4 separate regions of the Homo sapiens genome follow, and regions 1, 2 and 4 are each linked to region 3. Evidence: promoter capture Hi-C in 16 types of primary human blood cells and fetal thymus (Javierre and others, 2016). All regions are on one chromosome and are shown on one strand. Each heading gives the region's core, a stretch centred on a gene start or on the middle of the fragment in contact. The rest is flanking DNA. Distances are from core to core; before and after follow the strand shown. Region 1 overlaps ALG2 (ALG2 alpha-1,3/1,6-mannosyltransferase). Region 2 holds the start of MRPL50 (mitochondrial ribosomal protein L50). Region 3 holds the start of TEX10 (testis expressed 10). Region 4 has its middle 42 kb from the start of SEC61B.

Region 1 (2,707 bases), core at 208-2,707, 1.1 Mb before region 3:
GCCTGGTGTACAGAAGGCTACAGACGTTTGCTAGATGTGTGCTAAACATTTAAAGCTTCAAGTCCAGTGATTTCCTCTTGTATAGTGCTGTCTAATAGAAATCTAGTAATATTAAAAATGTTTTTAAGGGTGAAATTAATTTTAACATATTATTTACCGAAAACATTATCATTTCAAAATGTAACCAATACTAAACAGTATTAATGAGATACTTTATATATACATATATTTCACATTACATCTTCAAAATCGGTTTGTATTTTAACTTTAGCACATCTCAGTTTAGACTAGCCACATTTCAAGTGCTCAACAGCCACATGTGGCTAGTGGCTACCATACTGAACAGTGCCGCTCTAGGATCTTTCTCCTTCTAAGGAACTGAATGAATGAACTATAGTAGTTTAGAGCACAAGCTCTAGATTCAAGACTGCCAGGGTTTGAATCTCAGCTCTACTAACTGGCCACGATCAAGTAATTTATCCCACTCTGGGCCTTAGTTTCCTCTTCTGTAACATGGTGACAAATTATAGTTCAAAAAACCCATATACTTTTTGTGATTATTAAATGCACTGATATATGCAAAACACATGGAGTTTAGCACACAGTATGTGCTCAATAAATATTAAAGCTAGTCATCATTGAGCATGAACTACATGCTGGCATTACTACAGACTTTCTTGTTGGGTAATCTTTACAAGTCATTTTAGTCTCAGCTAACTTAAAACCTGAAGAAGGTAACTTTAGGGATAATGTGCAATTTATTCAAAGCCACTTAATTAAAGCAGTAGATACGGAACTTGAATCCAAGATGCCTATTTCCAAGCCAATAATTTTTCCTCTACCCACTATAGTCTCAGCTGCCTCATGTCTACTGACACATGCAGGATGTTTGGTAAATGTCCACGTTACTTAAAAAGAAAGCTTCCATGCAAGCAAGGATGATCAAAAGTAACTCAGGAGTCATAATTAAAGAAACACAAATACAAATGTGATGCCATCTGCACCTATCAGTTTGGCAAAGTTTAAAATGGTTAATATCCAAGGCGGACAAAAGCATGGAGTAAGAGGCTCTATCATACATTGTGGGGGAGTAAAGTGACACAGCCTCCTTGGTAGGCAAACTTGGCAGTAGCTATTGATATTTAAAATGAACAACTCTTAGACCCACCAACTTTAGGAATTTCCTCAAACGACATATTTGCAGAAGTACAAAAATATTTTAAAAAAAAGAAGTAAAAGGATGTTCATTACAACACTGATCTATTCACAAAAAACTAGTCACAACATTAGTGTCCTTTAAGGAGAATGTTTAATTATGACACACTTAAACAAAAGTGGATTTTCTGGCCACTATGAAGAATGAAGTGAATCTCTAATATTGATACATAAGAATGTCCCGGCTGGGCGCAGTGGCTCATGCCTGTAATCCCAGCACTTTGGGAGGCCGAGGTGGGCGGATCGCGAGGTCAGGAGTTCGAGACCAGCCTGGCCAACATGGTGAAACCCCATCTCTACTAAAAATAGAAAAAATTAGCCGGGCGTGGGGCGCGCACCTGTACTCCCAGCTACTCTGGAGGCGGAGGTTGCAGTGAGCCGAGATCGCGCCACTGCACTCCAGCCTGGGAGACAGAGCAAGACTCCGTTTCAAAATAAATAAATAAATAAATAAATTTTTGCTGAAAAAGATGCCTAATAGTAGGTATGTCATAATACCAATTATGTACCAATAAGAAGATATAGATATACCTATGAAAAGACACAGGCTGGTGTCACCACAACTTCTGAAAAAATACAAGAGAAACTTAACGGTGGCTATCTTCAGGGAGTAGAATAGGACGGGGCTTTTAGGTTACATCCTTCTATACTACTAAATTTTTAATCGAGTAAATGTTACTTTTTAAAGTCATCTTTTTTAGGATGGGGAAAAATGCACGAAGGAAAGAGTCAAGAATAGCTACAGGGCAGATCCAGGTGGACATTATTTACCAAGGTAAAAAGCTTGAACTTTTCTCCAAAAACCAATGGGGAGCCATGTACAAGTTTTAATAGGGGCATGATATATTCAGCTTGGCGTTTTTAACACATGACACTGCTGAGGACGGTGTGGCCTGGCTCCGAACACAAGGACAGTGGGATGCAAATGGCCTGAAAGGAGAGTCAACAAAAATAACAGGTAAGCGGGAAGACAACACGCGAGTTACTCATTAGTAAAAGGTGACTGAAGCTGACTTCTAATACCAGCGTTTCTCAGAGCCCCAAAGACTATCTACCTCGGAATCACCCTATGACCCAGTTAAAATGCAGATGTCTGGGCCCCACCTCAGGGCACCTGGATGAAAACTTCCTGGAGGATGGAACCCCAGCAATCTGCAACTTTAAATGGGCCCACACTAAAGTTAGAGAACCACAGGCTCGCTCACAACCCTGACTTCTCCATGTCAGTTCCGATCTTTGCGAACCGCAGACAGGGAAGGTCTTCTCTCAGGGGTCATGCCCGCGGCCGCCCTCCACGGCGAGGTCCGCACTCGCGCAGCCGGCCCCGCGGCCGCCTCACCTGGTCGCACACTACCACGTCGAACTCCTCGTCGGCGAGGAACAGCACGTAGAGCGCCAGGAAAACCATGCGCACGTAGGCGCAGACGGCGGCGCCGCGGCCGCCCCAGCCCAGGCCTCGCGGCAGCCAGTCCCCGGCACAGCGCACCGGTAG
Region 2 (2,827 bases), core at 52-2,551, 1.0 Mb after region 3:
AGTATGTGAAGAGATGAATATGATAATTATCTTGACTAATAATCAACATCAAGTTGTATATCTTAAATATATAAAATTTTTAAAATAGTAAAGAAAATATAATCATCATTCTCAGTAATCTATTTCCTCTAGTTTTCTTCATAATTTACCACTTTCTGAAATTACATTACACATTTGTTCATTTCTTCCTCCATTAGAACATATGCCCTACGAGAACAAAAATTTGGTCTGTTTTAGTAACCACTGTATTCTTACAACACCTAAGATATAGCCTGGCATATAGTAAACAGCCTAAAAAATATTTGTTGAGTGAATGAATAAAACAAACTTGGAAGAGATTTGAGAGATAATAACAAATATTGACCAAAGAAGAGGGAAAGCTAATATCTGAACTGATGAAAAAGATCTTTCCTAATTGTAGTGGTTTTTGTTTTAAACCTAAGAGAGCATACATTGCTCCCTAGGGTTCCTACCATACGTTTTGATTTCCTAAACACTATCTAAGTCAAATTAGATTTACCTTCAAACAATTACACATGGTGCAGCCGTGCAGCAGAAAAAGCAGTAGATGGGGAGTTAGGAGACATATGTTCTAGATCCAGCTTTGCAATTAACTTGCTTTGTGACTTTGGGAAAATCACTTCCCTCCTGTGGGCCTGTTTCCTCATATGTTGGAGTACCTCGAGGATGAGAATGGATTTTGTTTTTCCTGCTGTATCCTAGGCGCTTAGAGTAATGCTGGCCCTAAGAAATCTGTTGAATGACTGAATGAATGAACAAACAAAAGGAGGAGGCAGTACTTCATTACTGAACCTTGCTTGTGAAGAAACACAGCCGGCAAATGAGTTTAGTTTACCAAGCGCTTTCATGTGTTTGCAGACAACACACTCGGTGTCTCGCACACGAGGTTAATCCTGCTTGCTTAATAAATAAATGAATGAGTGAAGTGAAAAGGAAAGGGGGTGGTATTTCCGTTATAAAATGAGAAAACTAAGGCCGAGAGTGGAAGAGACTGGGTCCCACCACTCAATGAGTGCTTCTCAACTCGGGACCCTAACCGGACCTCCTTGTCCTTGCTCTGATCAGGCGCGGGACCACGATGGCGTAACACTCTATTTTGAATTCGTCCCTAATCCTCCTTAACTTTCCTTGAACATGACCCACCGTCCACCATAAAGCTTTACCTGAATCGAGACCAAAATTCTCTACATGGTGTCCCTGAGACTGTCCACATGAAGACTCTTCTGGTAATGCCCGACACAGATCGCGCCGCCATCTTCGATGAGATCCACGGGCCTGAGCGCAGCCTTCAGCCAGCAGTGACGCGCCCAGACCAGCCAATCGGATACAATCCCAGTGGCAAGAGCTTTCTTTTTCCTGTAGGCTCCCTCGCCCTTTGCACGCTGGGAAATGTAGTCCAGTAGCTGTTGCTGGCGGCGTCTGGACCGCGGCGCTCTTTCCGAGCATGACGGGAGTTGTAGTTGAGGGGGCCTCGGGAAGAATCTGGGTGACGCCTTCTGGTCCGGGGGCGGGCGGTCATAGCGTTACTTGGCTGCAAGGAGGAGGAACTGGCAGCGGGGAGGAGGCTCTAGCGAGGCCTGAAAGGCTGCGTAACCAGGCAGGAGTAGGGGTTGGGGTTCGGGGTTGGGGGACAGCCAGGGATCGCGTCTGATATGCTGTTGGGGTCGTGACCGTCTGGGGGCCGAGGCAGGCACTGGCCAGACCCAGCCAGGGATCCTCGTATTCGTCGAGCCTAATTTCCAGCAGCCGGGTAGGCCTCACCAGAGGCTCCTTTCCGTGAGGCCGCCCCCAATTCCTGCCCCTATTCTCTGCCTGGGAGATGGCTTCCCCGAGCCCCCCGCCGGAGTCGAAGGTAAGTAAGCACCCCCCCGGGGATCCCGGTTGTCTCGCCGCTACCCCAGCTAGGCCGCACCACTGCTTTCTCCCCCAGGCCCCCCACCAACCTCCTGACCGCCTCTTTAGGGCCAGCGCCTTGCAAGGAACTCCCCACTAGTGCATTGGGGTGCGGTTCGCGAACAAACTGCCCACTGGCTCCCTTTTTTTTTTTCTTTTTCTAGAGAGACTTGATAAATCGGCCTGAGAAAATAAGTAATGCTCCAGACTAGCTCTCTCATTTGTGAGTTCTCCAGGTGAAGCACCATTTTTGACCTTCCCTTGTGTCTTCTGTTCCTGGCACAGTGCCTGGACCCCAAGGTACACGCTTAGAGAACCTCAAGGAATTGAATTGAATAGAGTCACAAGCCAGTGCAAATGGAAAATTGAAGTAGGCAATGAGGTGAGGGAAGCTTGGAGAGGCCTTGGGGCAGTTTACTAAAATTAAACTCTCAGGGCATAATAAATCAGAAAAGCCTTATCCGTAGGTCCTTTCTAGTCTGAGATGTCTGTCAGTTACAGTTCGTTCCCAGAATTGGGCAACATATGGAACTTTCAGTTATCATGTTCCTCCTAGCCTACTTGGCCACAATAAGTGATTGCCTCTGTCACTTTTAGTGGTAGAATTGTCCTTGAGACAACAGGAACTGACTACAGAAATCATACTATTTCAGGGGTTGCTGACATTTGAGGATGTGGCTGTGTTTTTTACCCAGGAGGAGTGGGATTATCTGGACCCAGCTCAGAGAAGCCTGTATAAAGATGTCATGATGGAGAATTATGGAAACCTGGTCTCACTGGGTAAGAATCTGCTGTTTCTCTAATTAAAATATCTAAGAAGGTAGAGAGAAATCAGACTAACAGAACATTTGGACGGAAACCAGTACCAAAACTGCTTTGTTCCAAAGTTCTGATTCAAACCTTTTAGCCATTA
Region 3 (2,700 bases), core at 93-2,592:
CACTCCTGTGGGTTCTATTTAGCCATTAACCACCTGATAGATCTTCAACAGTCTACTGTCAACTTCATGCCATATTATCTATCGCTTTGTATTAGTCACATTAATGCTTTCTCTGTTAGGAAAATTAAGAAGGCTGATTGACCTTCCTTGACTTTTCAAACCTAGTAATATTATTACGGGATACAAAGCATTTTCATGCGAAGAACTCTCAAAGTTCTACTAGTAATTGACTTTAACTTATAACAAAGATTTTCATAACACAGCAAATCAAAAAGTCCCACTAAGCCACTTTTACAGTAGCCGGTTTTTAGCAAAAGGTAGGAACGCCAGTCTCAGAGGAGGAGCTCACATCACTAGTCCTTAGGTTTGCGATCCCCAATAGTTTCAAAGCTGAATGTCACACATTCCTACTGTAGGTCTTTTCTAATTCCAACAAAAGGCAGATCCTAGCGTTTTTAGGATTTCAATCGAACTAAATTCCAACTATAAATAGTTTGCCTGCCACCTTCTTACCCTTCCTCATTTCCACCTTCTTTTCCAAAAAAAATCAGAGAGAACGATCGTACTGCACTCGGCCTTTGATAATTTCCTCCCCAAACCCTTAAACTCATGAGTTCCTCCAAACTCCACTGAGGGGCCAACCAGAGGCGACAGACTTCCCAAAAAGCAAATGGCCCAGGCAGGGGCGACCCCAGAAAACTGGTAGTCCCCTTCCGCTCGCTTAACTCTCCCGCCTGGGCGACCAGAGGACGGAACAGGGGACGCCAGCTCATCCCCACTCCGTATTCGGTCCTGCATCCATCCCAGAGGCGAACACACCATGGGTTTTAGGAAACCATCGTTCCTCCTACTCCAAGGGACGCCGGCCAGGACCAGAGTCGGGGAAGTGGGGCCCGATTCACACACTCCGGGCTAAAACTCTCTCGGACCCGAAACCAGGCGAACCCGCCCAGTCACCTGAAGCTCCGCAAACGCCCTAGGGGGTCCCGCCCCCGCAGTGCCGGCCGCACACCCAGGCCCAGCTCGGAGGGACGCCGCGGCCCAGACCCGGGGGACGCAAATCGTGCACGGCCGACCCTGCCCGCTTGGGCCGCGGATCGGGGGGCGACGGCCCCACCACGCTCAGTCCCGCGCCCCGGGAGGACCCGGCCCGACGGGCGACGGCCGCTTACCTGAGGACCCGGCCGCGGCCGGGGCGAGAAGCCCGAGAAGACAAGCGAGGGAGCAGAAGCCCACGGGGCAACAGCGTGCGCCGCCGACCTCAGGCTCTAGCTCCCGGAGCGTGTTTTCAAATAGCCTCGTCCTCACGCGGCCGCGTCTCCTTCCGCCGCCCGGAAATCAGGGCCCCTCCCCCTCCCTGCTGTGCTCACGTGATCGCAGCCCGCAGCCGCGCGCAACCGGGGAGGCGGGAGCGGGAGCGGTAGGCCCCGCCCACAGAGGAGGGTACCCCGCCGGAAGCCCCCTGCTCTGTGGGAACCGGAGGGAGGACAGCGCGAGGTCCCCGGACAAAGCGTGGCGCATAAGTCCGGCCCGTAACTTGGTGGGCAGGCAACTTAGGGGATGTGGGCCTGGTTATAGCTGAGCATGCTTTTCTATTCCTCCCAGACCACAGTTCTTCAGACCTGGAGCCACTTTCAGAGAAGAGTATAAGTTGCACTGAATTGAAAAAGGGAAAAGTTTAGGACTGCAGAAGATGGAATTCCTGGGGACGTTAAACTGGGCTAAGATGGAGCAGATAAGATTTCCTTAATTAGAGCAAGACACACCTAGTATCTAGAGCCTGGAAGTCTTGGTCAAGGATTCTCCCTAACATCTCAGTTTCTCAGCACTAACATTCCTGCTACTAAAATGAAGTGAGAAATTAATTTCTGAAGTTAAGTAAAGAAATAAACTAAAATTCCTAGAAAAGAGGTAAGAAGAATGAGCCTTTGAAAAATGTCTTCACAAAGACTGGCATGATGGCATGGAAGAAAGAGCCCCAGGTAAGGACTTCAGACCTTGATTCAAATTTGTGTCTACACCTCACCAGATAATTAAGACTTAGTAAAGCTAGCGAAGATATTGACCCTCATTATATTGGGTGGGAATTCAAAGGAATGATGTCTAAATCCAGGGAGACCCAAGCACTGGAACTAAAACCATGCCTGTTCCATAATCGGAGATAAAGAGGCAGCGCTAGAAACCCTGACCTCCCTTTGCTGGCAATATGGCCACATCACCACAATCTGCCTGGAATCGACCATAACCATAAATATTTGGGAGTCATTGGCATTATGTGGCATTATATTCTGTTTAAAGCTATGAGACTAGATCAGAAGAGGAAAGATTTATTGCCAACCAGACAAGTCCCTGGAACTCCAAACTTGTATCCAACAGTTTTTTCAATGTTTCCTTCAGATATCCAGTATACATCTCAAGGTCAACTTGTCCAAAACAGAGCTACTGATGATTTTCCCCTTGAAATCTACTCTTCCTACAGCTTATTCATCTCAAATAGTAAGTCTGTCCTTGCAGTTACTCAAGCAGAAACCTTTGGGTTTTTGGTTTGGCCTCTTTGTTCCACACCTCACATCTAATCCATCTGGAGATTGACTCTACCTTTAAAGACATCCTAACTTTCACCAGTTAACACACCTCCCCTGCTACCATTCTGGTCCAAGCCGCTTCTTGATCACTGCAAAAAGCCTGCAAACACATCTT
Region 4 (2,717 bases), core at 79-2,578, 1.1 Mb before region 3:
CGGGAGGTGGAGGTTGCAGTGAGCCAAAATCATCACGCCACTGTACTCCAGTCTGGGTGACAGAGCGAGACTCCATCTCAAAAAAAAGAAAAGTTCGGGCGTGGTGGCTCACACCTGTAATCCCAGCACTTTGGGAGGCTGAGGCGGGTGGATCATGAGGTTAGGAGTTCGAGATCAGCCTGGCCAATATGGTGAAACCCCATCTCTAGTAAAAATACAAAAATTAGCTGGGCATGGTGCCACATGCCTGTAGTCCCAGCTACTCGGGAGGCTGAGGCAGAAGAATTGCTTGAACCTGGGAGGCGGAGGTTGCAGTGAGCCGAGATTGCACCACTGCACTCCAGGCTGGGCGACAGAGCGAGACTCCATCTCAAAACAAAACAAAACACAAAAACACAGCCTCTGCCTTAGAAGCACTTAATCAAGTGAGAAAAAGCAATGCAAATGCAGCTGCGGTTCATTGTAAAGCCTCTCACAACAGTCTGACTACAGTGTGGCCCTTCGCTCTCCCGTCATCAGGAGGAAGCTGGAGGGAGATGCAGTTCTGTGCACCACAAAGTTGTTCAGAGACGTTTTGGAGGTACCAAGTTTCCCATCATCAAGATTGTTCAAGGTTTGCTAGATGACCGTGTGATGGAAATATTAAAAAGGGGATATAAGCCTCAGTTATGACCTTTCTTCCAATCCTGAGACTGAACCACAAATATTCTGCTTCTACTTCCCTTTCTCTAGGTAGACTCTGACAGCCATGATCATGAATTCTGCTTGAAGGGTGTGGTCCTAGGAGTGGAAGAATGTTGGGAATAGTCCCGTGCAGTGGGAAGGACACTGAGGGCACAGGCGGAGTCTTGTGTTCTAGTTGCAGCTCTGCTGTTGACCTGTGGTGAGACCCTGGAGAAATCTTTCCCCTCTCTGGGTCTTAATGTTTCCTTCTGCACCGTGGGAGTGAGACTAAGTGTTCTCTGTGGTCTATTCCAGTGCTTCTCATTGCTGCCTCTGGGGAAGGACCATTTTTGGGGTTATATCTTTATTGTGATATAATTCACATACCATACAATTCACCTATTTAAAATGTACAATTAAATGGTTTTTAGTATATTCACAGAATTGTACAACCATCACCATGCTCAATTATAGAACATTTTCATCATCCCCAAAAGAAACCCTTTAACATCAACACCTTTTTCCATCAACACCTTCACCATCCCCAAAAGAAACCCTTTTCCATCAACACCTAATCCCGTTGTCTCCCTGCTGGCCCTAGGATACTTTCTGTCTCTATAGATTTCCCTATTCTGGACCTTTCATATAAATGGAATCATACAGTATGCATTTTAGGTAACTGTCTTCTTTCATTTGGAACAGTTCCAAGGTTCATCCATGGTAGCATGTATTGATACTTCACTCCCTCCTATTACTGAATGCTGAGTAATATTTTATTGTATAGATATAACACATTTCATTTATCCATTTGTCAGTTGATGGACAGTAGTTTGTTTCTACATTTTGGCTATTATGAGTGAAACTGCTATAAGCATTGGTGTATCGGTCTTTTATGTGGAGGTATGTTTTCAATTCTCTTGGTAATATACCTAGGAGTGCAACTACTGGATGATTAATTACTTCTCTGATCTTACATCCTGCCCCACCCCCTCCACACTCCCTGTGCTCCAGTCACAGGGGGCGCCACCTACTTGTACTTCCAATTCTTCAGCCCATGCTTTTGGAACTCTGCAGTTTTGCCCACACTACTTTTTCCCCTGAGATGTTATTCCCTTCCATCATTTGGGGTGCAAGTCTTTTGTGTTACTAAAGGCCCAGCTTAGATGTCATTTTCTCTGCAAAACCTTCCTCCAGTGCTTCCTCTTGTGAAAGCCATACAATCCCATGTGCCTCTTTCACAACACTAGGCATTTTCTACCTTGGATTGCAGTTATTTTCTACTCAGGTCTTATTGCCTCTTCTAGACTATAACCTTCTTAGCTCTATCTGCTTTTTAGATTTACTTTTTGTTTTTGAGATGGAGTTTCACTCTTGTTGCCCAGGCCAGAGTGCAGTGGCACGATCTCGGCTCACTGCAACCTCTGCCTCCTGGGTTCAAGCGATTCTCCTGCCTCAGCCTCCAGAGTAGCTGGGATTACAGGCGCCTGCAACCACACCCGGCTAATTTTTTGTATTTTTAGTAGAGACAGGGTTTCACCATGTTGGCCAGGCTGGTCTGGAACTCCTGACCTCAGGTGATCCGCCCGCCTCAGCCTCCCAAAGTGCTGGGATTACAGGCATGAGCCACCGTGCCCGGCTCTAGATTTACTTTTATATTCCAAGTGCTTTGCACATAGCAGACCCTGTATAAATGTTTGAATAGTGAGCATTTTGTGTGCTTTGTTATTGAATTATTTTAAGACAGTAGGTACCTCTACGCTCTAATGGCTCTCAGGGTTGTGACAGCCGTGCACGTCTTCTCAGAATGAAAGCACATTTTCTGGGCAGCATTTGAGGGTAAGCTGAGCTGCCTTCTCTTCCTTTAGCCCATTTCCCTGGTCTCTAGCCTGACACGAGCATCTCAGACTCTTCCTCATGCTTCCAGCTAAAATCTAACAAATTACTCTGAAATACAAGGTTATGTGTTATGGATCCTGACTTCTTCGAGCATTGCTTATGACTGAAATTTATAAACAGACAGCCGTCTTCCTGGATGACCTAACAAATCATATTCC

What was found. The method cuts DNA at HindIII sites, captures the fragments that hold promoters and counts their contacts. A CHiCAGO score of 5 or more calls a contact.
Region 1: a fragment that was not itself captured here is called in contact with the fragment with the promoter of TEX10 in region 3 in 9 of 17 cell types (fetal thymus, total CD4 T cells, non-activated CD4 T cells and 6 more); the score reaches 12.3 in fetal thymus.
Region 2: a contact is called between the fragment with the promoter of MRPL50 here and the fragment with the promoter of TEX10 in region 3, in 2 of 17 cell types (monocytes and fetal thymus). The highest score is 8.2, in monocytes.
Region 4: a fragment that was not itself captured here is called in contact with the fragment with the promoter of TEX10 in region 3 in 1 of 17 cell types (fetal thymus); the score reaches 6.7 in fetal thymus.

Annotation. Positions count from the first base shown.
Region 1 is chr9:99,218,993-99,221,699 of GRCh38, forward strand. ALG2 (ALG2 alpha-1,3/1,6-mannosyltransferase) reads right to left here. Exons shown (of 2, transcript NM_033087.4): 1 at 2,555-2,707. Among named protein-coding and RNA genes, the nearest start is that of ALG2, 1.6 kb to the right of the region's middle. RefSeq lists an enhancer at 1-39. The HindIII fragment of the contact is 1,077 bases long and covers 920-1,996 here.
Region 2 is chr9:101,397,317-101,400,143 of GRCh38, forward strand. It overlaps MRPL50 (mitochondrial ribosomal protein L50), which reads right to left and starts at 1,302. Exons shown (of 2, transcript NM_019051.3): 1 at 1,185-1,302. The coding sequence starts at 1,276. ZNF189 (zinc finger protein 189) reads left to right here and starts at 1,535. Exons shown (of 3, transcript NM_003452.4): 1 at 1,535-1,873; 2 at 2,568-2,694. The coding sequence starts at 1,841. RefSeq lists enhancers at 415-944, 945-1,473, 1,006-1,535. The HindIII fragment of the contact is 1,128 bases long and covers 1,177-2,304 here.
Region 3 is chr9:100,351,600-100,354,299 of GRCh38, forward strand. TEX10 (testis expressed 10) reads right to left here and starts at 1,343. Exons shown (of 15, transcript NM_017746.4): 1 at 1,173-1,343. LOC105376177 (a long non-coding RNA gene) reads left to right here and starts at 1,451. Exons shown (of 4, transcript NR_188642.1): 1 at 1,451-1,982; 2 at 2,398-2,496. RefSeq lists enhancers at 582-631, 1,036-1,670 and a silencer at 972-1,521. The HindIII fragment of the contact is 13,255 bases long and covers 1-2,700 here.
Region 4 is chr9:99,262,617-99,265,333 of GRCh38, forward strand. No RefSeq gene overlaps it. Among named protein-coding and RNA genes, the nearest start is that of SEC61B, 42 kb to the left of the region's middle. RefSeq lists an enhancer at 700-839. The HindIII fragment of the contact is 8,980 bases long and covers 1-2,717 here.